2 separate regions of the Homo sapiens genome follow, and region 2 is linked to region 1. The links are contacts of gene promoters, found by promoter capture Hi-C in blood cells and fetal thymus (Javierre and others, 2016). All regions are on one chromosome and are shown on one strand. Each heading gives the region's core, a stretch centred on a gene start or on the middle of the fragment in contact. The rest is flanking DNA. Distances are from core to core; before and after follow the strand shown.

The links. The method cuts DNA at HindIII sites, captures the fragments that hold promoters and counts their contacts. A CHiCAGO score of 5 or more calls a contact.
Region 2: a fragment that was not itself captured here is called in contact with the fragment with the promoter of ALDH5A1 in region 1 in 1 of 17 cell types (total B cells); the score reaches 5.1 in total B cells.

Annotation. Positions count from the first base shown.
Region 1 is chr6:24,489,562-24,496,232 of GRCh38, reverse strand. It overlaps ALDH5A1 (aldehyde dehydrogenase 5 family member A1), which reads right to left and starts at 1,264. Exons shown (of 10, transcript NM_001080.3): 1 at 883-1,264. The coding sequence starts at 1,236. It overlaps GPLD1 (glycosylphosphatidylinositol specific phospholipase D1), which reads left to right and starts at 6,655. Exons shown (of 25, transcript NM_001503.4): 1 at 6,655-6,671. RefSeq lists a silencer at 869-1,258. The HindIII fragment of the contact is 3,166 bases long and covers 1-2,255 here.
Region 2 is chr6:24,786,998-24,794,602 of GRCh38, reverse strand. It overlaps LOC124901280 (a long non-coding RNA gene), which reads left to right. Exons shown (of 3, transcript XR_007059510.1): 2 at 1,217-1,357; 3 at 1,736-1,804. Among named protein-coding and RNA genes, the nearest start is that of ARMH2, 8.1 kb to the left of the region's middle. The HindIII fragment of the contact is 1,287 bases long and covers 4,644-5,930 here.

The DNA.
Region 1 (6,671 bases), core at 15-2,514:
AACTGAGGTATCCCAAGCACCTCCAACAGTGCAGGGCATACAGCAGGTGCTCAGTAAACAGCTGATGGATGAATGAGTGCTAAGACTCTCTTGTACTCGTAGGGATCGCTGGATGCATTCCTTCAGAGGGAGAGCTTTGAAGGACACGGTAAAAAATTTCACTGCGTTGACTCCAGGTTTAATAATATAATATTAGAAGGAAGAAACTACTTTCTTAGTTTTCTTCTTACTCTATTCTTCCCATTTAATGGCCCTCCACCCCTTACTCCCAATTCTCCAGTGTTCTCTATGCAATGGCCAATAGCAGCATTTATCCATTTAGGGTGAAAACCTGGAGAACGCTCCTGGATTTCTCTCTTCCCCTGCACAAAACCCAAATCTTTCTACAGTTCTCTCCGTTTCCGATCCCATGATTCTGGCCAGGGGCCCTCACTACCAGCCTTCTCAAGGGCCGCTGAAGCAGCCTCCTGCGTGGGCTCCCTGCAGCTGCGGAGATATTTCAGCTACTCTGAAGGGCCACACGTGCTCTCACTTCCCTGACACCCCTCCCCTTTCTCCCCGCCCCTCCACGGTTAGGCTTGTTGACCATAACAAGCAGCTCGCTTGTATTAGGCGCTCACGTTCTGCCTCCCCTACTGGGCAGTGCATAACTTGATGAGGCTTGAGGGCAGGGGTCGTGTCCCTAGTGCCCGGCTCAAAGTGGAAGCTCCAAACTTATTTGTCGGTCGTCTCCCTTGTTGCTCTGACTTTCCACTTTGTATACCCTGGGGAACTGAGCACAGGAGGGAGGCGACGCGGCTGGTGTCACTTTGGGGTAAAGCCCCCTCTGCTCCCCGCCGTGTCCCCGGCCAGCTCTGGCCCCCTGCATCCGGGCTCTCTCACCTTGGCGGAGACCTCCCTCCAGCGGCAGAAAGCCTCGTAGGCAGCGCGCACGGCGGCGCGGGCCTCTCGCACCCCGCAGTCGGCTACCATGCCCAGAGCGGCGCCGCTGGCCGGGTCTTGCACGGGGAAGGTGGCGGCGGCCGGGAGCCAGCGGCCGCCCACGAAGCTGTCGGTGCGCAGCAGCGCCGCAGAGAGGCCCGCCAGGCGCCCAGCGTAGCAGCGGAGCTGGGCCGGGCCGGGCGCAGGCCCGGAGGCAGGGACCAGGCCGCCGGCGCGGGGGCGGAGGCGGCAGCCTGGAAACGTCGACCCGAGGCGCCGGGCCCCACAGCTCCGCAGCCAAATGCAGGTCGCCATGGCCCGGGCAACGACGGCGACAGGAAACAGGCAAGCGGGCGCGCGCGCACGGGAACGCAGGGGTCGCGGGGAAGCAAGAGGAGCGAGGAGGCGCCGGGGACGCGCGGGGAAAGCGTGGGAGCTGGCGGAAGGTTGCAGAGCCACAGAGCAGCGCCCTCTCTCCGCGTCTTTCTCGCTGCACCGCCGCGCCGCCCTCTGCACCTTGCCCTAAGCGCCGCGCGGCTTCTCTCCTGGCGCGACCTTCTCCCGGGGGAGGGTTGGGTTCGGGGATGGAGAAGGCTCGCCAGTAGATGCACCTGCGGACTGCTGTCACCTTTTCACTTTTCGGGTGCTCATTTGTCACTAACTGCTCCTGAGCCCCCAATCGCTGCTAGAGACCCACTCTCTCCCCTTAGCATCCCCCAAATTCGGCATCCCCGGAATTTGTGCGCGGTCCATAGATGCGCTGGTGCCTGCCCTAAATGCCAAGGCCGTGATCACGCTTCTTCAGTTGTAGCTCCTGAGCACGTAGTATTGATTGGGAGCGATCGTTCTCTGAGGGGTCGAAGTGTGACCCCGCGTTCTGCTGCCTGGCTGCTTTTTTGGGTGTGTGTCTAGGCATTCTCCTAGGGTTGCTCCCGATAAATAACAGCGCTTTGGAAATAAACAGACTAGGATCCAAACTCAAGTCTGTTGCCGACAAGCTGTGTGACCGACAGGTTAACCTTAGTCCAGTCACTTATAAAATAGAACCATATCTACCCCATTTTGTTGTGAGATAACGTAAAATGCTCATTACAGTTGCCACATTAAATTCAATATAGCGTTCAAAGTCATACTAGCTACCCTAGTCAAGCCACTAGTAAGATTAAAGTTGGGTCACCAACTAGTAAATGGAAGCATTTGTCAAAATTGAATCAACCAAGGTATAAGGATTGAGCATACTATCCAACCAAGGTATTTGAGCACCTTTAAACAGCATTCTTCATCCGTTAAAAAATTAGACTTGGGCTTAAGACTCTGAAAGCAGCAGGGAAGCTTAAAACCTAATGAGGATAAAAATAAAAATAGCAGGCGTATGCTGGGAATTTGTGGGTGCAAATGAAGCCCAGCCCTATGCATTGATTTTAGGTTACATATCTCCCTTTCTCAACTCCTACAGCGTTGAGAGTATCTTGCTAGCTTTCACCTTTTTCTAGGACGTTGAATTTTTTTCTAGGACATTTGCAAAATGCCGAGGCAGTAACTTTAAATTTTGACTTTGTCTTTTGCTGAGTCAGATCCATTGAGTTTTGAGCCAGTCACATATGGCAGAAGTGATAACAGTAGAGTTTAATCAATTTCACACTATTTTGCTCTGTATTTTATTGCAGGAACTGGGGAGAACCAGGGAGTCCTAATAGGGATGTGGGCCAGTAGGTATCACAGGTGGGGCTGGGGAGCTGGCGTGTTTACATCTCCTGCCTGCGGAGGGAGTTTTTGTTTTTGTTTTGTTTTGTTTTTGGTGGTGGTTTTTGTTTTTTGTTTGTTTTGTTCTTGTGAGACCGACAGACTCATTCTGTCACCCAGGGTGGAGTGCAGTGGTGCGATTTCAGCTCCCTGCAACTTCCGCCTCCCGGGTTCAAGCGATTCTCCTGCCTCAGCCTCCCGAGTAGATGGGGCTACAGGTGTGTGCCACCAAGCCCAGCTAATTTTTGTATTTTTAGTAGAGACAGGTTTTCACCGTGTTGGCCAGGCTGGTCTTGAATGCCTGACCTCAAGTTATCCGCCCTCCTTGGCCTCCCAAAGTGCTGGGATTACAGGGCTCATTTCTACTGGCCTGGGGAAATCATTCAATTGAGGCCTCAATCAACTGAGGCCCAGAAAAGCCAAGTTAATTGTGGCTGCCTCTCTTGTTCAAAAATTACCCTAGCCCACTTACCTTTTTAAGGTTCTATTTCAAACGGTACCCACTCCCTTTCCCAGATGACTTATCCATTACGCACAGTAGGTACGATGCCAAGGGCCCATAAAACTTTTAGGAGCACTCACAAATGTTTAATTTATTCTAAAATCTGAAGAAAAGAAGTTTTAGGTGGCATATTAATATGTTAATCTTACACCAATGCAGATGTAAAATGTGATTTCTATTTATTGTTTACTTATTTTTGTGACAGGAAGTACTTCACAAAGGCAAAAGCGCCTGGAGCTTAGAAAGTTCACAATGTGGCCCTCCCCTTTTCCCTCAGTTTTGTGCCCCTCTTCAAGCCCCCATTCAGAGTGTAAACAATTTCCTCCTGGCTCCTGTCTTACTTCCAGCCTGTCCTGATGCCCCCTAGCGCCTGGCTGGGTGTCTGTCCTTACCAGGGCCTACAAGGACAAGACCATCAGGTGAGAGGGACCTCTTCCCTCCTTTCTCCTTTGGCTGCCCTTGTCCTGGGAACCTCCACTCCCCAGTTCCCACCCTTATTCATCCTCTCCCCCATTTTCTTTTTCTTTTTTTTCTTTCACTTTTTTTTTTTTTTTTTTTTTTGAGTCAGGGTCTTACTCTGTCGCCCAGGCTGGAGTGCAATGGCACGATCTCAGCTCATTGCAACGTCTGCCTCCTGGGTTCAAGTGATTCTCCTGCCTCAGCCTCCAGAGTAGCTGGGAGTACAGGTGCGCGCCACCATGCCTGGCTAATTTTTGTATTGTTTAGTAGAGATGGGGTTTCACCATGTTGGCCAGGCTGGTCTTGAACTCCTGACCTCAGGTGATCTGCCCACCTCGGCCTCCCAAAGTGCTGGGATTACAGGCATGAGACACTGTGCCCAGCCTCTTCTCCCCCATTTTCTAGACTGGCCCACATAAAGCTTGAGACCCTCTGGCTTTCAAACCTGTATTCTCCCTACTCACTCCTTAATGTAACTGTATGTTTACTTTTCACCTTGGGTCTCTATTTCCAGAAGAGTTCTAAATGGTAGAATCATGCTGTCTTGTTTATAACAAAGCCACCTATATTAGGAAAGGGGGGTGTGGGGCAGAAAGAAAAATATTTCCATATGCTTATTATTTGTCAGATAGTAATATTGTGAGCTACGTTTTAACTTTCTTTAAAGTCATATCTTTGATGTTTTTATTGTTACCAAAGTAATACAAACTTCATAAAACTGCAAGCAATATTGTCATATAAAGACCATATTCATAACTATCACACTAAGCAAATAATTTCCTCTTATTTTATTACATTTATACGTTTATGTCATTCTGAATCTCAAATACAAAAAAATGCATAATGAGAAATTGAGACATTTGGGATTAGTATTGTTTGGTAACTGAACCCATTCCTTTTTTTTTTTTGAGGTGGGGTCTTGCCCAGGCTGGAGTGCAGTGGTGTGATCTCAGCTCACTGCAACCTTCACTTCCCAGGTACAGGCGATGTTCCCGCCTCAGCCTCCTGAGTAGCTTGGACCATAAGTGCATGCCACCATGCCCGGCTAATTTTTGTTTTTGTTTTTTTCTTGGTAGAGACGGGATTTTGCCATGTTGCACAGGCTGGTTTTGAACTCCTGGCCTCAAGCCATCTGCCCGCCTTGGCCTCCTAAAGTGCTGGGATTATAGGCGTGAGCCACCACACCTGTTCTGAACCCATTTCTTTGGTGCTTTTTGGATGGGTTTGTTGTATTATATATGGTTAGATATCTTTTCTAGCAGTATTTTTTTCCCCTGTAACCATTGATTGACTGCTCTTGGATGTTCTGAGAGACAATATCCAAAGTCCCAATTAATAATTGTGACTCCCTCACGCACAGTCTGTAGAAGGCCCAGAGTGACAGGGAGGCAAACTCAAAGGCCTCTGGTGGCCAGAAGGGGTGTGGAAACCTGCACACATTGCATGGATGGTGGGGACTGGAGGAGCAGGACATGCTCTATCAGGGGGCAGCTGGCTCTTTGGCTGCAGCTGGTTGTCGTGTCACATGGGAGCGTCAGTTCATGATGCCAGTTCTTTTGTTTTTAAGAGAGCCAGAAATCTAGATTTCTACGTGAATTTTCTCATTTAGAAAAAGTTCATAAACTTGATTTAAGTTTATAAAACATCCTGTTAGCCAAACAAAACACGTAGGCATATGGCCTCTGGACTAATCAGGAGTAGCTGGGCCTACTGCCCCTCAGGTCTGGGGGTAGCTGCGGGATTTCTTTCCTTGGGGCTGTGCACATGGCTGTGTTAAGCTTACAGGGGAAACTGTTGGGGCGACAACTGTTGTCAAATCATTCCACTTTCTTTTTTTCTTTTCTTTTTTTTTTTTTGAGACAGGGTCTTGCTCTGTCACCCAGGCTAGAGTGCAGTGGTGCAATCTCGGCTCACCGCAATCTCCACCTCCTGGGTTCAAGAGATCCTCCCACCTCAGCCTCCCCAGTAGCTGGGACTACAGTCACGTGCCACCACACCTGGCTAATTTTTGTATTTTTAGTAGAGACGGGGTCTTCACTATGTTGATCACGCTGGTCTCAAACTCCTGACCTCAGGTGATCCACCAGCCTCAGCCTCCCAGAGTGCTGGGATTACAGGTGTGGGCCGCCACGCCCAGCCAAATCATCCCACTTTCTATTCATCCTTTCATTTGGCAAACCTGAAGTGAATACTATTTCCTCCCACTCTTTTAGGAGCCCATCTCTTGCTTTTAATGTAAAATATGCATAATTTGTGTTTTAAGATTACCATCAGTTTCATGAAGAGCTTAATTTTTCCCATGGATGAAGTGTAAGTGGGTACCTGATAATATATCGTGAGCTTAACATTTTCCAAACCCTGTTTCTTGGCCCTAAATCTGCCCCCTTCCTTCCACCTCCCAAGTGGAATTGACATCTTTGCTTCAGCTGCAGGAATCTGACCTTGCAACAGGCTCTGGATAAGCCCTATTAGAACAGCCAGAGGTAGAGAGACCAGGAGTGGCTGCTCTTGTGTAATCCCATACAAGTGTCAGTATCTGTTGCCAAATACTGAAAAGGAAGCCAGTTCCAGCTGATTACCATAAAACTTTCCCAGCACTTGTGGCTTGGGAGGCGGAGGAAGCAGGACAGCCTGATAAATGTGTAGAAAGGATGCATGAGAGATCCACCCTTGTAAGGTGAGGTGGTCTAATATGTTGACTATCTGCACAGGTGAGCCTTTTTATAGAAAGCAAAAAATATCTGGAGACAACTTTGCTTGCATCTCTACACAAATTTCATGTTAAAATGAAATCCAGAAAAAACCTCGGTCAGAAGATGCAGTGCTTCTGGCCTAAGGCTTTTCAGATTTCAGTTTATCCTCCCAACCCCACCCCCCAGGAGCACAGAGTTTGTTTGCTGTTCTGGTGAAGCTAAACAGTAGTTGGACAGTTGACTTCATTGGAAAACGATATTATTTTGAAATGAGGCTTGGTTTCCTCGGTCAGTGACCTGCTTAGAGAGAAGCGGTGGGTCTGCACCTGGATTTTGGAGTCCCAGTGCTGCTG
Region 2 (7,605 bases), core at 4,038-6,537, 290 kb before region 1:
AAGGCCTCTAGTGAGAAACAGCAGTCTCTGAGTCCCTTCCCCATTTACACTCCCAGAGGGAATCATCTGAATTGTTTCAGTTGTTTCTTCTGGTATTTATTTACCTTCATATTTCTAAATAATTTATATACATTGTTAATTCTTGTCTTTTTTTTTTCAATTTTGGGGATTTTTGTTCTTCCTTCTGAATAGGACAGATGGAATTTGGCATTCTAACACTCATCTTGCCTACCTTCACCTGCCCTACTCTTCCTCTCTCGATGTAATTATGTCACAATTGTTGATTTAAAAAATATGATAGCTGGGCACAGTGGCTCACACCTGTAATCCCAGCACTTTGGGAAGCTGAGGTGGGAGGACTGCTTGAGGCGAAGAGTTTGAGACTACCCTGGGTAACATAGCAAGACCCATCTCTGTTATAAATAAATACATTAAAACCAAATAAGATTAATTCAATATTTTTCAAGGCTAAGTCATACAGGATATTATGATTACACTTCCTTCTTTCCACAGCTCTGTTTTCTCTGTAGTTTTTGTTTTGTTTTGTTTTTGAGATGGGAGTCTCGCTCTGTCGCCCAGGCTGGAGTGCAGTGACACGATTTCGGCTCACTGCAACCTCCGCCTCCCAGGTTCAAGTGATTCTCCCATCTCAGCCTCCCAAGCTGCTGGGACTACAGGCACGTGCCACCACGCCTGGCTAATTTTTTCATATTTTTAATAGAGATGGGGTTTCATCATATTGGCCAGGCTGATCTCAAACTCCTGACCTCGTGATCCACCTACCTCCGCCTCCCAAAGTGCTGGGATTACAGGCGTGAGCCACCACGCCCGGCTGGAGTTTGTTTTTTTACTTAGTTTTCTGAATACCTATCACTACTTTATTCCCACACTTTCCTCTATATGTCTAACATCTCTCAACACAATCATGCACTGAGTAACTGTCAGCTCCGGCTCCACCATCCTCTTGCTCCAATCTGGGCCTGCCCTTAGCTAACAAATACAGTATTTTAGGGGTTCCCTTCAACATCCAGGACCCCCCATTACCCCTCTCATCTTGAAGCCTCTGTTTCCTGTATACTCTCTCTTCCCTTTTCCTGGTTCATTCCAACATTTTAATTTCAAAATTTTTCAGTAGTTTCCAGAGAAAGAATGAAGGGGAGGTAAATGTTTTGAGCATTTGCATGTCCAGTGATGTCTTTATTCTTCACTTGATTAGTAATTTGACTTCAGCCTGTCCCTGAACCAAGAGAAGCAGCTGAGAACATCAGTGCTCTGTGCAAGCCCTCACTCCCCAGAAGAAGAAGGGAAGAGCTGAGGCAAGCACCTGAGGGCTATTCTTCCCAAAGTCACTAATCAGGTAAGTCCCTCATCTCCACTAAAACCAGGAGTGTTGCAGCTATTGGAGATTCCTACTCCAGGAAGAAAACATTAGATATGGAAAAGAAGCATATATGCAACCAATTAAAATGTATCAATTCATGTAAGGATAAAAAGAAAAGAAGTAGCTTCTTCTGTATCTTTCCAGAAGTATTCTTTCTATATATAAGAAAATATACATCTATCCCTTACGTCGTCCTTGTTTTAACATATAGTAGCATTCTATACATACATAATTTATTTCACACTTTGTTCTACATCTTAAAGAGTTTGATTCTTTTCCATTGCTTCAGAGTATTTCATTGTATGACTGTACTATACAGTTGACCCTTGAACAATATGGGTTTGAACTGCTCAGGTCCACTTATATGAAGATTTTCTTCTGCCTCGGCCACCCGAGACAGCTAGTCTGCCACCGAGACTCCCCTTCAGCCTACTCAATATGAAGATGATGAGGATGAAGACCCTTATGATGAACCACTTCTGCTTAATGAATAGTAAAAAATATTTTCTCTTCTTTATGATCGGCTTAATTCTTTTCTCTACCTTACTTTATTGTAAGAACACAGGATATAGGCCGGGTGCAGTGGCTCACGCCTGTAATCCCAGCACTTTGGGAGGCCGAGGAGGGTGGATCATGAGGTCAGGAGATCGAGACCATCCTGGCCAACATAGTGAAACCCCATCTCTACGAAAAATACAAAAATTAGCCGGGCATGGTGGTGTGTGCCTGTAGTCCCAGCTACTCAGGAGGCCGAGGCAGGAGAATCGCTTGAACCCAGGAGGCGGAGGTTGCGGATCGCACCACTGCACTCCAGCCTGGTAAACAGAGCGAAACTCCGTCTCAAAAAACAAAAAACAAAAAAAACAACAACACAGGATATAATACATATAACATACAAAATATGTGTTAATCAACTGTTTATATTATCAGCAAGGCTTCCAGTCAACATTAGGCTAATCATTAAGTTTTGAGAGAGTAAAAAATTATATGCAAGGCTGAGCATAGTGGCATGCCTGTAATCTCAGCTACCTGTAAGACTGAAGCAGGTGGATCACTTGAGCCCAGCCTAAAAAACATAAGACCTTGCCTCAAATAAAAAACTAATTTCAGCCGGGTGGGGTGGGGCTCATGCCTGTAATCCTAACACTTTGGGAGGCCTAGATGGGAGGATTGCTTGAATCGAGGAGTTCGAGACCCGTCTTGGCAACATAGTGAGACATCTCTACAAAAAAAATCAGCCAGGTGTGGTGGTGTGTGCCTATAGTCCCAGCTACTTGGGAGGCTGAGGCAGGAGGATCGCTTGAGCCCAGGAGGCAGAGGTTGTAGTGAGCCAAAATTGTGCCACTGCACTCCAGGTGACAGAGTGAGACCGTCTCAAATAACAATTTCAAAACAGAGAATTTATCTAGGTCAGGTGTGGTGGCTCACGCCTGCAATCCTGGCACTTTGGGAGGCTGAGGTGGGCAGATCACCTGAGTCCAGGAGTTTGAGACCAGCCTGGCCAACATGGTGAAACCCCCATCTCTACTAAAAATACAAAAATTAGCCAAACATGGTGGTGTGTGCCTGTAATCCCAGCTACTCGGGAGGCTGAGGCAGGAGAATCACTGGAAGCCAGAAGCAGAGGTTGCAGTGAGCCAAGATCACACCACTGCACGCAAGCCTGGGTGATAGAGCCAGACTCCATCTCAAAAAAAGAAAAAAAAAGAAAAAAGAAAAATTATCTAAATTTTAAAAGCAGAAGATAGCCAAAGAAAATTTATATTAGCCAGGCGTGGTGGCACGCGCCTGTAGTCACAGGTACTCGGGAGGCTGAGGCAGGAGAATCTCTTGAACCCAGGAGGCGGAGGTTGCAGTAAGCTGAGATGGTGCCACTGCACTCCAGCCTGGGCGACAGAGCTGAGACTGTCTCAAAAAAAAAAAAAAAAAAAAGAAAAGAAAAATTTATATGCAGATTTTCAACTGCACAGGTGTTGGCTTCCCTAATGGCTGCCTTGTTCAAGGGTGAACTGTAATTTATACAACCAGTCCTATACTGATGAACATTTAAGTTATTTCCAATATTTTGATAGTTCAAAGTTGTAATGAATAACCTTAAATATGTGTAATTTCACATGTGTGAGCATATCTGTTGAATAAATTTCTAGAAATGGAATTGCTTAGCCATACTTACATCGTTTGCTTTTGTTTTATTCTGTTCCCTGCATTGTGACTTTTGCCTCAACTTCTGTTGACTCTGCTTGGTCAGCACGGGATTATGATGTTTTTTACAGCTTACTGTCATTTTAATAATGTTTGGGAAAGACAGAAATTAAATGGCTCTGTTCAATTAACATGTTTAACCAGAAATTGCTGAAGGCCTCTCTGTGACAATGTTTACAGAAATTTTGGTTAACATTTTATCTACAGAAGATTAGCTTATAAGGTAGTCTAATAATATGTTCTATTCAAATTCCTTTTTGGTCTCTGGAACCTCTTTAAGTTGAAGGAGGTAAGATACAAGGTTCAGATTCGAGCTGAGGCATTTTTACTGTAAACCTTGAATTTTAAGCTGGCTTACCAAAGCTTTAACAACAGTGATTTTGTTTTCCTTTGCTGTCCCTCCTAAGTTCATCTCTCCCAACTTTTGAGTTTTGCTAGAAGCAAATCAGAGGATTTGCTTAAGGATTTGAAAGATATTATTTGGGAGGTGATCTCGGGAACTAGCAATAGGGAAGGGAAGAAAGCCAATAAAAGATGTATTATGAAGAAAGCTGCCACTGTAGGTAAACGGAAGCTTAATCCTGCTGGGGAACCATCTGGTAAACACACAACACACATGCCTTAAGAATTATTTCATCCAGAGGTCCCAAGGAGCTCAGATATGTATACACCAATTCTTATCCTTCTTGGTTGACCTAACAACCTAATTAGTTACAACCTAAAAGTCAACTGAAATATCTTGAAGGGTGTGGGATAGGCAAGGAAGTTTTCTAAACAAACCAAAATTACGAGGGCCGTAAGGCAGTGTGGTGGACGTTTGTTGCGTTTTGGCTCACTAGAATTTATTCTTTCTTCTAATAACACGTCAGTTTATTTGGGGGAGATATCTTACCCATGGTGTAGTCTTAAAATTCATTTCTATCTGCTCTTGGATTAGCTTTTCTCTTCCCTTCCTATAATTATCCTTTATTTGGTCTCATTGCATCCACCTCCAAAAGAATTGGAAATAATTGTGGTCCATCCTTTTCTAGCTCTTGACCTTGAAACTAATTCCAAAGCTTCACCATTAAGCATTATGTTAAGCATGGGTAGCATAGTTTATTTCAGGTTAAAATTCTTTTCTTTTCCTAGCTTACCAAGGGTTTTTACCAGAAAGGGTGTTGAATTTTATCAATGCTATTTTACCATCTATTAAGATGATATGCTTTTTCCCCTTTAATATAAAGAACTTCATGTTTACTAATATTATAGCAGTCTTGCATTCCTGAGATAAACCCTAACTTGGTCATCGTTTTATCTTTTAGTAGATTAGACTTGCCATTTTATTTATGATTTTTCAATCTGTATTAATAAGGCTCTAGATTCCCCTACTCCAACCTTACGGTCCATCCTCATTACCTTCTTTTTTTTTTTTTTTTTTTTTTTTTTGAGATGAGGTTTCGCTCGTTGCCCAGGCTGGAGTGCAAAGACGCGACCTTGGCTCACTGCATCCTCTACCTCCTGGGTTCAAGCAATTCTCCTGCCTCAGCTTCCCAAATAGCTGGGACTACAGGCATGCACCATCACGCCTGGCTAATTTTGTATTTTTAGTAGACAGGTTTTCACCATGTTTGTCAGGCTGGTCCTGAATTCCTGACCTCAGGTGATCTGCCCACCTGGGCCTCCCAAAGTGCTGGGATTACAGGCATAAGCCACCACACCTGGCTGGTCCATCCTCAAATCTTGATATCAGTTATGCTAGCCTTGTAAAATATATTGACAAATTAGTTCAGTCTAATCCAGGCTTCATGCATACTGTTTTTCCAACTGATTCTTATCCATTTGCCATTTCCTTAACGAAGCTCGACTGCATTTTATTAAACCAACTTCAAAGAACTTGTTCTAATGGGCCAGGCTTGATTGACTCCCTGACCCCTTCTCCAAGGTATTTTCATTGACATGTTTTTTGTTTTGTTGAGACAGAGCCTCACTCTGTTGCCGAGGCTGGAGTGCAGTGGCGCAATCTATGCTCACTGCAACTTCTGCCTCCCAGATTCAAGCAATTCTTGTGTGCCTCAGCCTCCCGAAGAGCTGTGACTACAGGTGTGCACCACCACGCCCAACTAATCTTTTGTATTTTTAGTAGACAAAGCATTTTGCCATGTTAGCCAGGCTGATGTTGAACTCCTGTCCTCAAGTGATCTGCCTGCCTCAGCCTCCCAAAGTGTAGGGATTACAGGCGTAGCCATCACACCCGGCTGACATGCTATACTAACATTTGATACCTAATTAAAAATCAGACTCATCTTCCACAGGAAATTCCTACAAATTCTCCATCACTAGGGTCAGTTCCCAGGGACTAGAAGCTTAAAATATGTCCCCCAAAACAGCCCCTACATGACCCTTAGGCAACTACTAATCTGCTTTCTCATTATACTTTGTAGTTTTGTGATTTTAAATAAATAGAAGCATACAGTATGTATTTACCTGGCTTCTTTCACACAACATTGAGATTCGTCCATGTGGCGTGTACCAATTTTTGTCCCCTTTTTATTGCTAAATAGTATTCCACTGTATAGTTATACCATAATTTATCCACTCAGTTACCAATGGATATTTGGGCTATTACAAATAAAGCTATGAAAATGTGTGAACTAGTCTTCATGTGGACATATGCTTTCGTTTCTCTTGGGTAAATACCCAGGGGTGGAATGGCTGAGTCATATAAAATGTGTATGTATAACTTTTAAGGAATTGTTCAACTTTTCCACAGCAGTTGTAGCATTTAGCACTGCCACCACCACTGCAGGAGGGTTTCAGATGTTTCACATCCTTAACACTCGATGGAGTTGTTTTTATTTTTCAAACTTAAAACAATTCTGAAAGGTATGTAGCAGTATCTGGTTGTCATTTAATTTGCACTTCCTTAATGACTAATGTTGAGCATCTTTTCATGCACTTAGTTTCCATCTCATACATACCCTAGTTCTTTATAGATACAAATCCTTTGTTGGCTATGTTCTGCAAATATGTTCCCCCAGTCTGTTCTTGCCTTTTCATTTGCTTGTCTTTCAAAAAGTTTTTAAAATTTACAACGTTTAATTTGAAGTTGATGCTTTTTTGTGTCCTATTTGAGAACTCTCTGCCAAACCCAAAGTCACTAAGAACTTTTCTATATAATCTAGAAGTTTTATGGTTTTAGCTACTACCTTAGTTTTTTAATCCCCTTCAATTCCCTCTCCTTTTGCTCCCCACCATCAAATTCTGGCATTTTACAAAAATACTTTCTATTTGTCAAGTCCCTATTCTACTTACCTATTTTCTTTCTTAACCATGCTAAAGGCCTCTCAACTGAGTCTCCTCATGCTCTAATCCAGAATATTCTTCAATTCCTTTAAAATTAATTTACCTATTAATCCTATCTTTAGGCTAGTGATCCACACCTGAAACACACAGAGCCACACTAACGTAATTGCCACTAGCTTCTTGTAGTGACTTAAATTAAAATGTCCATACCTCATTCACACTAGCCACACTTCAAGTGCTAAACAGCCACACAGAAATGGCTACCATACTGTACAGCAGATATTCTCATCATCCCAATAAGTTCTACTGGACAATGTTGTTATAGATTAATAATAGCTTCCATTTTTAAGACACTTAGCCTAGACACTAAAGGTTTTAATCTTCACGATAACACTATGAGGTAGGCTTTATCTCAGTATTAAAGAAAATTAAGGCCAGGCACGGTGGCTCACGCCTGTAATCCCAACACTCTGGAGGCCGAAGCAGGCGGATCGCTTGATGCCAGGAATTCAAGACCAGCCTGGGCAACATGGCGAAACCCCGTCTATATAAAAAATTAGCCAGGTGTGGTGGCACGCACCTGTAGTCTCAGCTACTTGGGAGGCTGAAGTGGGAAGATGACTTGCGCCCATCAGGTGGAGGCTGAAGTGAGCTGAGATTGCACCCCTGCACTCCCGCCTGGGTGACAGAGAGAGAAAATTAAGGTTCTATAAGGATGCTTACCTAAAACAATCCTT